2 separate regions of the Homo sapiens genome follow, and region 2 is linked to region 1. The links are contacts of gene promoters, found by promoter capture Hi-C in blood cells and fetal thymus (Javierre and others, 2016). All regions are on one chromosome and are shown on one strand. The core of a region is centred on a gene start or on the middle of the fragment in contact, and the rest is flanking DNA. Distances in the headings are between cores, read along the strand shown. Region 1 holds the start of TCP1 (t-complex 1). Region 2 holds the start of FNDC1 (fibronectin type III domain containing 1).

Region 1 (3,922 bases), core at 1,214-3,713:
AGAAAAAACATATAAAGCAAGTAGCATAATTCCTGGCAAATGTAAGTGTTCATTAAACAACCACCTTTATAACAAAGTATCTCAAGTCATACTAGACTCCTAACTGGTCTTTCTTCAAGTCCTGCTCCCTCAAAAATTTAATCTTCCAAAAAGCAGCTAAAATGATTTTTTTTTTTTTGAGACAGAATTTTGCTCTGTCGCCCAGGCGCTCAGCTCACTGCAACCTCCGCCTCCTGGGTTCAAGTGATTCTCGTGCCTCAGCCACTGGAGTAGCTGGGATTACAGGCGTGCACCACCACGCCCCTCTAATTTTTATATTTTTAGTAGAGACGGGGTTTCACCATGTTGGCCAGGTTGGTCTCAAACTCCTGACCTCAGATGATCCGGCTTCTTCGGCTGGCTCCCTAAAGTGCTGGGATTACAGGCATGAGACAATGCGCCCAGCCAGAATGATCTTGAAAAACCAATTCGGGCTCAAGCTTTAAATCCTCTCGTAGTTTCCCACTATAATGAAAAGAAAGTCTAAAGTGCTCATCTTGACTTACAAAGCTAATCATCTGTCGCCTCCTTACCCCTCCATGTTCATCTTGGGCCATTCATCCTCTGCCCATTGAGCTTCAGATCCACAAGCCCTTCAGTTCCTCACCCCAGCAGTTTCCTTTGCTAGGACTGCTCTTTCTGGCAGATGACTAGGCTTCTTCCTCTTTCAGATCTCACCTTCTTAAATGTCACCTCAGACAGGCAGGTATCCTGTCCGCTACTGTAACATCCTCTTTAAATAGCCCCCATCACACCTATTTGTTGTTTGTTCCAGCCCCTCCGCGAACCCTGCCTCTACCCGCCGCATGGCAGCTACCTGGGAGAGTGCCTGGAGTTGAATGAATGAAAATAGTCTGTAGGGTGCACTGCCCTTGTCAATCACAAGCAGATTTAATTACCTGTGCCAGAACTCACGGGAGGGAAACACCGTCCGCCAGCCCCGCTCTTTCCTGGCTACAGATAAAAGCTCCAGGTTCCGGGGGTTCCGGTTGGTGAATTCTGGGGCGACAGCTTCATTTTCCACAGGGTCCACTTCAGGTTTCGCTGCCGGCTCGGAGCTGGTTGACAGGGCTGCGAACCTGCACCCTGGGCAACGGGAAAAACCGCACAGGGCTTAAAAATGACGGATATGGACAGCGCACGAACCCGCTCTAACGTCTATCCGCTTTTACACCCCCAATCTTTAGGCCCGAGGGGACGAAAAATACGTATGCCCACAGGGTGGAGTCAGCACTGACCCCGTCCTTAACTTCCTACTGTGGTCTTCGCAGTGCCGCGAGCTCTATTTCGATCCGGCACGTCGAATACAAAATAGAACCCGCACGTTCCAATGTACTGTGCAAGCCCAGGCGAGTGAGCTGGGAGAAGGGGGGCAAGACTAATTACCAGGGTTCCTGCAAACCGAGAACAACCCCCAAAACCGCGACCGAAGCGCCATCGCTGAGACGATCTCGGAAAAGCCTCGCCTCTTTTTCCTCACGGACGACTCAGTCGCTCGCCAGGAGCAGCCATATAAAGTCAGGGACAAGCCTTTGGCTGCTGTAGATCCCCAAACTCTCCACGCCAGACGCCACCGACCCGGAAGTAGCAAGTCCCCTGCCACTGAGTGGCCGAGAAGGCGATCTGTTATCCTTCATCGCCAATCATCGCTCACGTCGAGGGGCACGCAGGCCCTGGAGCCCACCAACCACCTCGTAGCTACGCCCAAGACCACGCTTGTTGCTTAAGTCCGGGGTCAAAGGCACACACCCCACAAAACCATGTTTGGGTTTTCTACTCGGAGAGCTTGGGCGGTCATCGACTGGTCCACACACACCCCACCTGGGCACCGCGTAGGAATAAGGCAGGGCAAGATGCAGTTTTCTCCTTAAAAAGGGTGGTTGTCTTCCTCGAACCAAAAATTTTCCCGTATGGCCCGCTGGAAAAACTGCCCCGTCCCACCCAGGTTCGCGCCCTTAAACTTACACTCCTGAGGCCTGGAGCAAAGCCGGCCGATCTGCCTCACGCTCCCCGAGCAGGGACAAGGAAAAGACACTAAACCTAAAACGCACGACTCGCTCAGAACCCCAACTCTAACTTGGAGAAGGGCCCGCCCCTCCAGTTACACCCCAGCTCCAAGCTCCACCCTTCTTACAACCTTTTCTAGAAGGCACTAGAATGGCCCACTGCGTCTGCGCAACATCGTTTGAGGCGAAGGTTCAACCTCTTCCCAGCGGTCCAACATCCGACTTCCGTTCTCCGCTTTCGCGCCCTTCCCATCGGCTATCTAATTGGACAAAAATGCCGACCCCGCCCCTTCCCCGGAGCCTCACTTCCGTCACAGTCCTGTTTCTCTCCCTGTTGTCCCTGCCTCTTTTTCCTTCCCGCCGTGCCCCGCGGCCGGGCCGGGGCAGCCGGGAAGCGGGTGGGGTGGTGTGTTACCCAGTAGCTCCTGGGACATCGCTCGGGTACGCTCCACGCCGTCGCAGCCACTGCTGTGGTCGCCGGTCGGCCGAGGGGCCGCGATACTGGTTGCCCGCGGTGTAAGCAGAATTCGACGTGTATCGCTGCCGTCAAGATGGAGGGGCCTTTGTCCGTGTTCGGTGACCGCAGCACTGGGGAAACGATCCGCTCCCAAAACGGTAAGGGCGGGCCGGGCCTGGGTCGGGTTTGCGGCCGGGGAGGGCCGAGTCCCACCGCGACCGGACCCCGGCTGCCCTCGTTTCTCTCCTTTACCTCCGCAGAAAGGGCCTCGGGGCCCCGCAGCCGGACCCAGCCCACCCGCCGTTCTCTGGGGCAGGGCGCTGTGGCCCCACTTTTCCCACAGCGAGGAGGAGCCCCGCCGCGCGCGGCAGGGTTTTGAGACCGGCAACGCGTGGATGTGGTGTCCGGGGCGGCGTTGGAAACGCGCCCTCCGCGGGAAAGCGGGCCTCCCGGGCTCGCACGTGCGGGCCACGCCTCGCACCCCCTTTTGTTTCAGGGCGACCCCCTGAGTGTCCATGTTAAACGCCAGGTTTTATTTTAGGACCATTTACCAGAAAAAGAGTAGGTCCATCCGCGCGCCCTCGGATGAGCCCGGTGCCCTGTCCGCCCGCAGCTGCAGTCGAGGTCGGGCGTCCGGCGTCCAGCCGTATCCGGGTTGACAGCTTCTTACAGTAGAGTTAGCCCAGGAAACGCCACTCGAGTGCATTGACCCCAGGAGACGGCAGCGCTAACTTAGCAGAGCGTTTGCTGTCAGGCCTTTGGATACCTACAGAGCTTACTGTTTCTTGATAGATTCCTAATTTTTTTCGTAAACAAATCTGAAAGTCACCACCTTCCCCGTTGACTACCGATTTCTCTCCTCACAGATAAAGAGAGTTTTAATGAGCAAAAAACTTGCAGAATCTGAAGGAAAAGGCTGGTATAGCTGTACGAAGTGGCAGAGCATGAAATTGGTGGTTATTACTTTTTTTTTTTTTCCCCGCCATCAGATTCCACCCCGCATCAAAGCTGTGCCAAATAGGCTCGCTTTGTTTAGGGACAGGGTCCCACCTGTCGCCCAGACGAGAGTGCCATCATAGCTCACTGCATTCTCCAAGCACAGGTCCGCGCCGCCGCATCCGGCTTTGTTTTTATTTTTTGTAGAAATGGGTTTCGCTATGTTGCCCAAAGGGGTCTCAAACTCCTGGCATCAAGCGATCCTCCTGCCTCGGCCTCGCAGTGTTGGGATTACACCTGTGAGCCACAGTGTCTGGCCCCATTTACACTCTTAGTAGGTGGTTTTTAAATAATTAACACAGATTTGTAGATTTGGGAAATACGGGGGCTGTTGGATGTCATTTACCTTTAGGCTGAAATTACTGTCTTTCAGAGTTGTGGCTTATCCTCATTTCTTTTTTATTTTTAATTGATTGTCTACAGT
Region 2 (3,922 bases), core at 556-3,055, 620 kb after region 1:
AGTGAGAAGAGCAGCTTTGTTTCTACATTTTGGCAAATCTTTTTAATAGAATATCTCCGATCTGCTTATGCATTCAATCTATTGCAATATGTCGTTTTGCTTGGAGAAAACCCAGCCTCACACAGATGTGTAGCTGGACAACTATTTCAATAGCCTTTTTGGATAATTTTGAAAAATCTTTGATATTACACCAAAATTCATCAAGTAGCCAATTCTTAGAATCTGAAATCATATGAAGAATTTTTCATATTTTGTTACATTAAAAATCCATTGGGCTATCATGCACTTTGAACAGACCTTTTACCCATGCAAGATTGTTGTAAGGCTATACACTGGTCATTTGGATCTATTGGTTTATTTGGTTATGCAGATCATCCAAATGTTGACACATTTTATGAGATGACATTTACAAATCACATTCATTTATATCACCATTGATCTCACTAGAAAAAAATTTAAATATTGGGAAACTTTCAAGCTTACAGTGGTGGAAACAACTTGGCAAAATTCTGATTTTCACTTGAAAGCTGAAATGTTATCATTGGCAAGCAATAATAGCAGTTATTTTACTAGAAGTAGCAAGTTCCCTTTGTTCATTTTTGAGAAAACATCGGCCAAATACCCAAGTCAGAATAGCTCTAGTTTGTCTGTTGTCATTCTTTGTGGTAAATACCACATTCCATTTTAAAAAACCAGCTAGCTTAATGCATAACACAAACAATCACACCAGTGCTTCCCCCTGGGGTTGCCACTGAACTTGGTCATCAGCAGTAGTAACTTATGTGTCCTTCCCATTTATTTACACTATTAAAAAGACATACACTCAAAGATACAAAGATTTGGTAAAATTAATAATTTTACTGTGGCATCAAGAACATTCTTAATGAAACTGGCAAATTTTTTTTAACTGCAAAGTCCCCCCAAAATTCAAAGACTACTAGTGCATGGTGATGTCCCTGCCTTGATTCTCAGTAAGACACCCGCAGTTTACCCATCAAGCTTTTGCACCCTCAGTGCAAATGTCAACTGTGAAAAAGGAAAATAGCATCTTAGTAATCTTAGTATTACTTTGAAAATAGTTTTGACATGGAAAATTCCCTAAAAGCTTCTTTAAAGAAGAAAATAAAAATCATCCCTAACCATCCTAAGATACCCACTGCAAATATGTGCATGTGTGAGTACATCCACATGTGTTTAGAAAAATGTATCATACCAGACTGGCAAGGCCATCATAATTTTAATGTTTGCATAGTATCCTATTGTAGGGATGAATATGAGTGGAGGAGGGGACACTGCTTGCTTATTTTGTTTTATGTTTAATTGACCCTACACTGAAGGGCTTATCCAGATCTTCAGTGTGTCCTGCTTTAAGCAAAGTCCCTCGGAGCCACTATTATGTGGCCGTGGGTAATTTCCTTACAGAGATTCTGGCCCCAAAAGGGTGGTGAAGGGGAGAGCTTGACACAAGCAGCTCGCTTGGTCCATGCATTAGTTCAACCAGAGAGAGGGAGCAGTCTATCCATGACGTTGCTGTCAAAGGGAGCCCATGAAAGAAGTTATGTACCCCATAATTTCATCCACAGCATGGGGAGCTATCTACAGGTTGCTATGTCTGTTTCTATCCTTCTATTACTTAATTTAAATTTAGTAGATTTCATTCTGAAATGTGCCTGTCCTCCTTTGTCCACCTCTAGTCTGGTCATCATTTGACTGTAGATCCCACGTCAACACAGTAGAGAGAAGGGCTGGGAAGCTGTCCAGCCCCAGCATTCCTCAGCACAGTGATTCACAGAGCAGAAGGCGAAAAAGCAAGAGTGCAGATCGCGGTGGGATTCCAGGAGCTCTCACAAACAACCCCGCTCGGACCCACTCACATGCAACCCACGGGCAGGTGGCAGAGGAATCGGAAAAGCAGAAGGCTGGAATCGCCACAAAGCCAGGGCAGCACTGGTTCCAGTTTCAGATCATTTTCAGAAACAAAAACTCTTCCAGCACTCTGAAAATTTTCACTTAGAAAAACAAAAGCCAGGAGTTGTAGGTGGGGAAGTTGGAAGACTTTATTTAGTTTTATTCCTCTCAAGTACTGTGCAAAGTATTCAGTGAATACTTTCCTAGAGTTCACTAATGGGAAGAAAAAGACCCTACGGCAGGCACTGCCTTTTATGAGAAAGTGGCATTGGCATCAGAATACCTCGCATAAACCTGAGCCAAGCATTGGGATGATGTATCTACCAAAAAGTCACAAAGTAATGTGATCCCCAACTTTTCTTCCTTTACCCCTGAAGTAAGAGAACAATATATACACTAAATAGCATCATAAAACTGGTACCCTCGTTGGAATAGTATCTGACGATCATTGTCTGCTTCTTGGATTTCTACAAACCAATAACCTAAAAGCCAGTTTCAAGTGTAAAAATGCCTGCAAAGGAGGTGGTAACAAGGGCCGCCAAAGGCTTAGGAATGAAAACCTCGCCACAAACTTGTCTCTCTCTGCAGGAAGCTTGCAAGAAATCTGACAGGAGCGCGCTAGCATTTTCTGAAAAGCATTGCTCTCAAAGGAAGCATCCATCCTGGCTGCAGCCTCAGCCATTGGGGAAGGGCGAGTTTCTCTGGAATCAGCTTTCTCATTTCCCTCTCCCTCCTCTCAAGACAAACATTTTCTCCCAGCTTGAACGTTCCCCCCGGGCGCGCGGGCCTCCTGCCGCCTGGAGCCGAGCTGGCACTGGAGCGCTTCTCCTCTGGAGCGCAGAGGCACCCGACGCCCTGCGGCAGCTCGCAGCCTTTCCCCCACGACCTTCTAGAACAGCCCTGCTCTGCCTCCCTCCGGTCTCCCGAGTGCGCCCGTCATCCTGCCTCGCGAGAGGTGAACGCGGAGAAAGTAGGATGACCACCTACGCTCCCGAGAAATTCTGGGCAAAGAAAGGCATTACCCCAGTCCGCACGCTGAAAGTCGCCTTTCTTTTCCTTTTTTCCCCGCTGTGCCTGAATCTCCCGGGACACTTAGACGGCTGGAGCCTCCCGACTCCAAGGCGGGCGACGGCAAAGTTAAACGCCAGCGCGCTGCGGTCCCCGGGCACCGAGGCGTCCCCGCTCCCGCCACCCACACAGGGCGCCAAGTGCCCCGACCCGCGAGTGACGAGGACGCACAGGCTAGTGACACGACCCGTAGCCAGCACTGAGCGGGACGACGGGGCCCGAGCGCAGGAGGGTGCGCGGGGAGCTGAGGAGCGCCGGGGGCCCGGGCGCGGCGCGTACCTGAGGCCGCCGCCGAGGAGGCGACGGGGAGCAGCGCGGCCAAGAGCAGCAGCGCCGCCCAGGACAGCCGGCGCGGCGCGCGCAGGGTCGCCCCGGCCTCGGGGGCCATCGAGAGCCCGGGGTGGGCCGGGGCTGGGTGCTTGCGGCTGGCAGGGGGGCGCTGGCCGGAGTCTGGGGAGTGCCGAGGCGCCGCCGTCGGGTCCCCGCCGCCGTCCGTCTGTTCTGCGCGCTCTGCGCGGTGCCCGCCGCGCCCCTGCCCCGCGGCGATCGCTCCCGGCCGCACACCGGCAGCCGCGCTCCGCCACTGAGGCCGCCGACCTCCCGCCGAGCCTTTTAGCTGCGCTCGGGCGCCCCCTGCCGGTGTGCGGGGCCGGGGCCAGGGCCGGCGGGGGCGACCCGGGCGACAGGGGCGACGGGGGCGGCGGGGCCCGGGCTGGAGGCGGGCGGGGCGCGGGACGAAGGGGCCGGAGCGCCCCGGACTGACTTAGCGGTTCTGAACTTGGGGCGGTCGCTGTGCCGGGCCAAGTGGCTGAGGAAGTTCCTCCCCTCGTCTAACCCTCTCATTTTCTGGCTGGGGAAGTCGCCCATCGCGCCGAGGAGTGCCCTTTGTCCCCTTACAGAAACACCTCTGCGCCCCAAGTGGGGACTCGGGCCGGGACCCCTCACC

What was found. The method cuts DNA at HindIII sites, captures the fragments that hold promoters and counts their contacts. A CHiCAGO score of 5 or more calls a contact.
Region 2: a contact is called between a fragment that was not itself captured here and the fragment with the promoter of TCP1 in region 1, in 7 of 17 cell types (megakaryocytes, total B cells, M0 macrophages and 4 more). The highest score is 12.4, in megakaryocytes.

What each region holds. Positions count from the first base shown.
Region 1 is chr6:159,788,143-159,792,064 of GRCh38, reverse strand. It overlaps TCP1 (t-complex 1), which reads left to right and starts at 2,463. Exons shown (of 12, transcript NM_030752.3): 1 at 2,463-2,660; 2 at 3,922. The coding sequence starts at 2,597. It overlaps MRPL18 (mitochondrial ribosomal protein L18), which reads right to left and starts at 1,598. Exons shown (of 4, transcript NM_014161.5): 1 at 1,426-1,598; 2 at 939-1,125. The coding sequence starts at 1,477. RefSeq lists enhancers at 1,411-1,470, 1,501-1,680, 1,937-2,600, 2,601-3,265. The HindIII fragment of the contact is 4,019 bases long and covers 482-3,922 here.
Region 2 is chr6:159,169,039-159,172,960 of GRCh38, reverse strand. FNDC1 (fibronectin type III domain containing 1) reads right to left here and starts at 3,561. Exons shown (of 23, transcript NM_032532.3): 1 at 3,256-3,561. The coding sequence starts at 3,364. FNDC1-AS1 (FNDC1 antisense RNA 1) reads left to right here and starts at 2,954. Exons shown (of 4, transcript NR_121668.1): 1 at 2,954-3,149. RefSeq lists an enhancer at 2,207-2,706 and a silencer at 3,513-3,682. The HindIII fragment of the contact is 1,395 bases long and covers 1,108-2,502 here.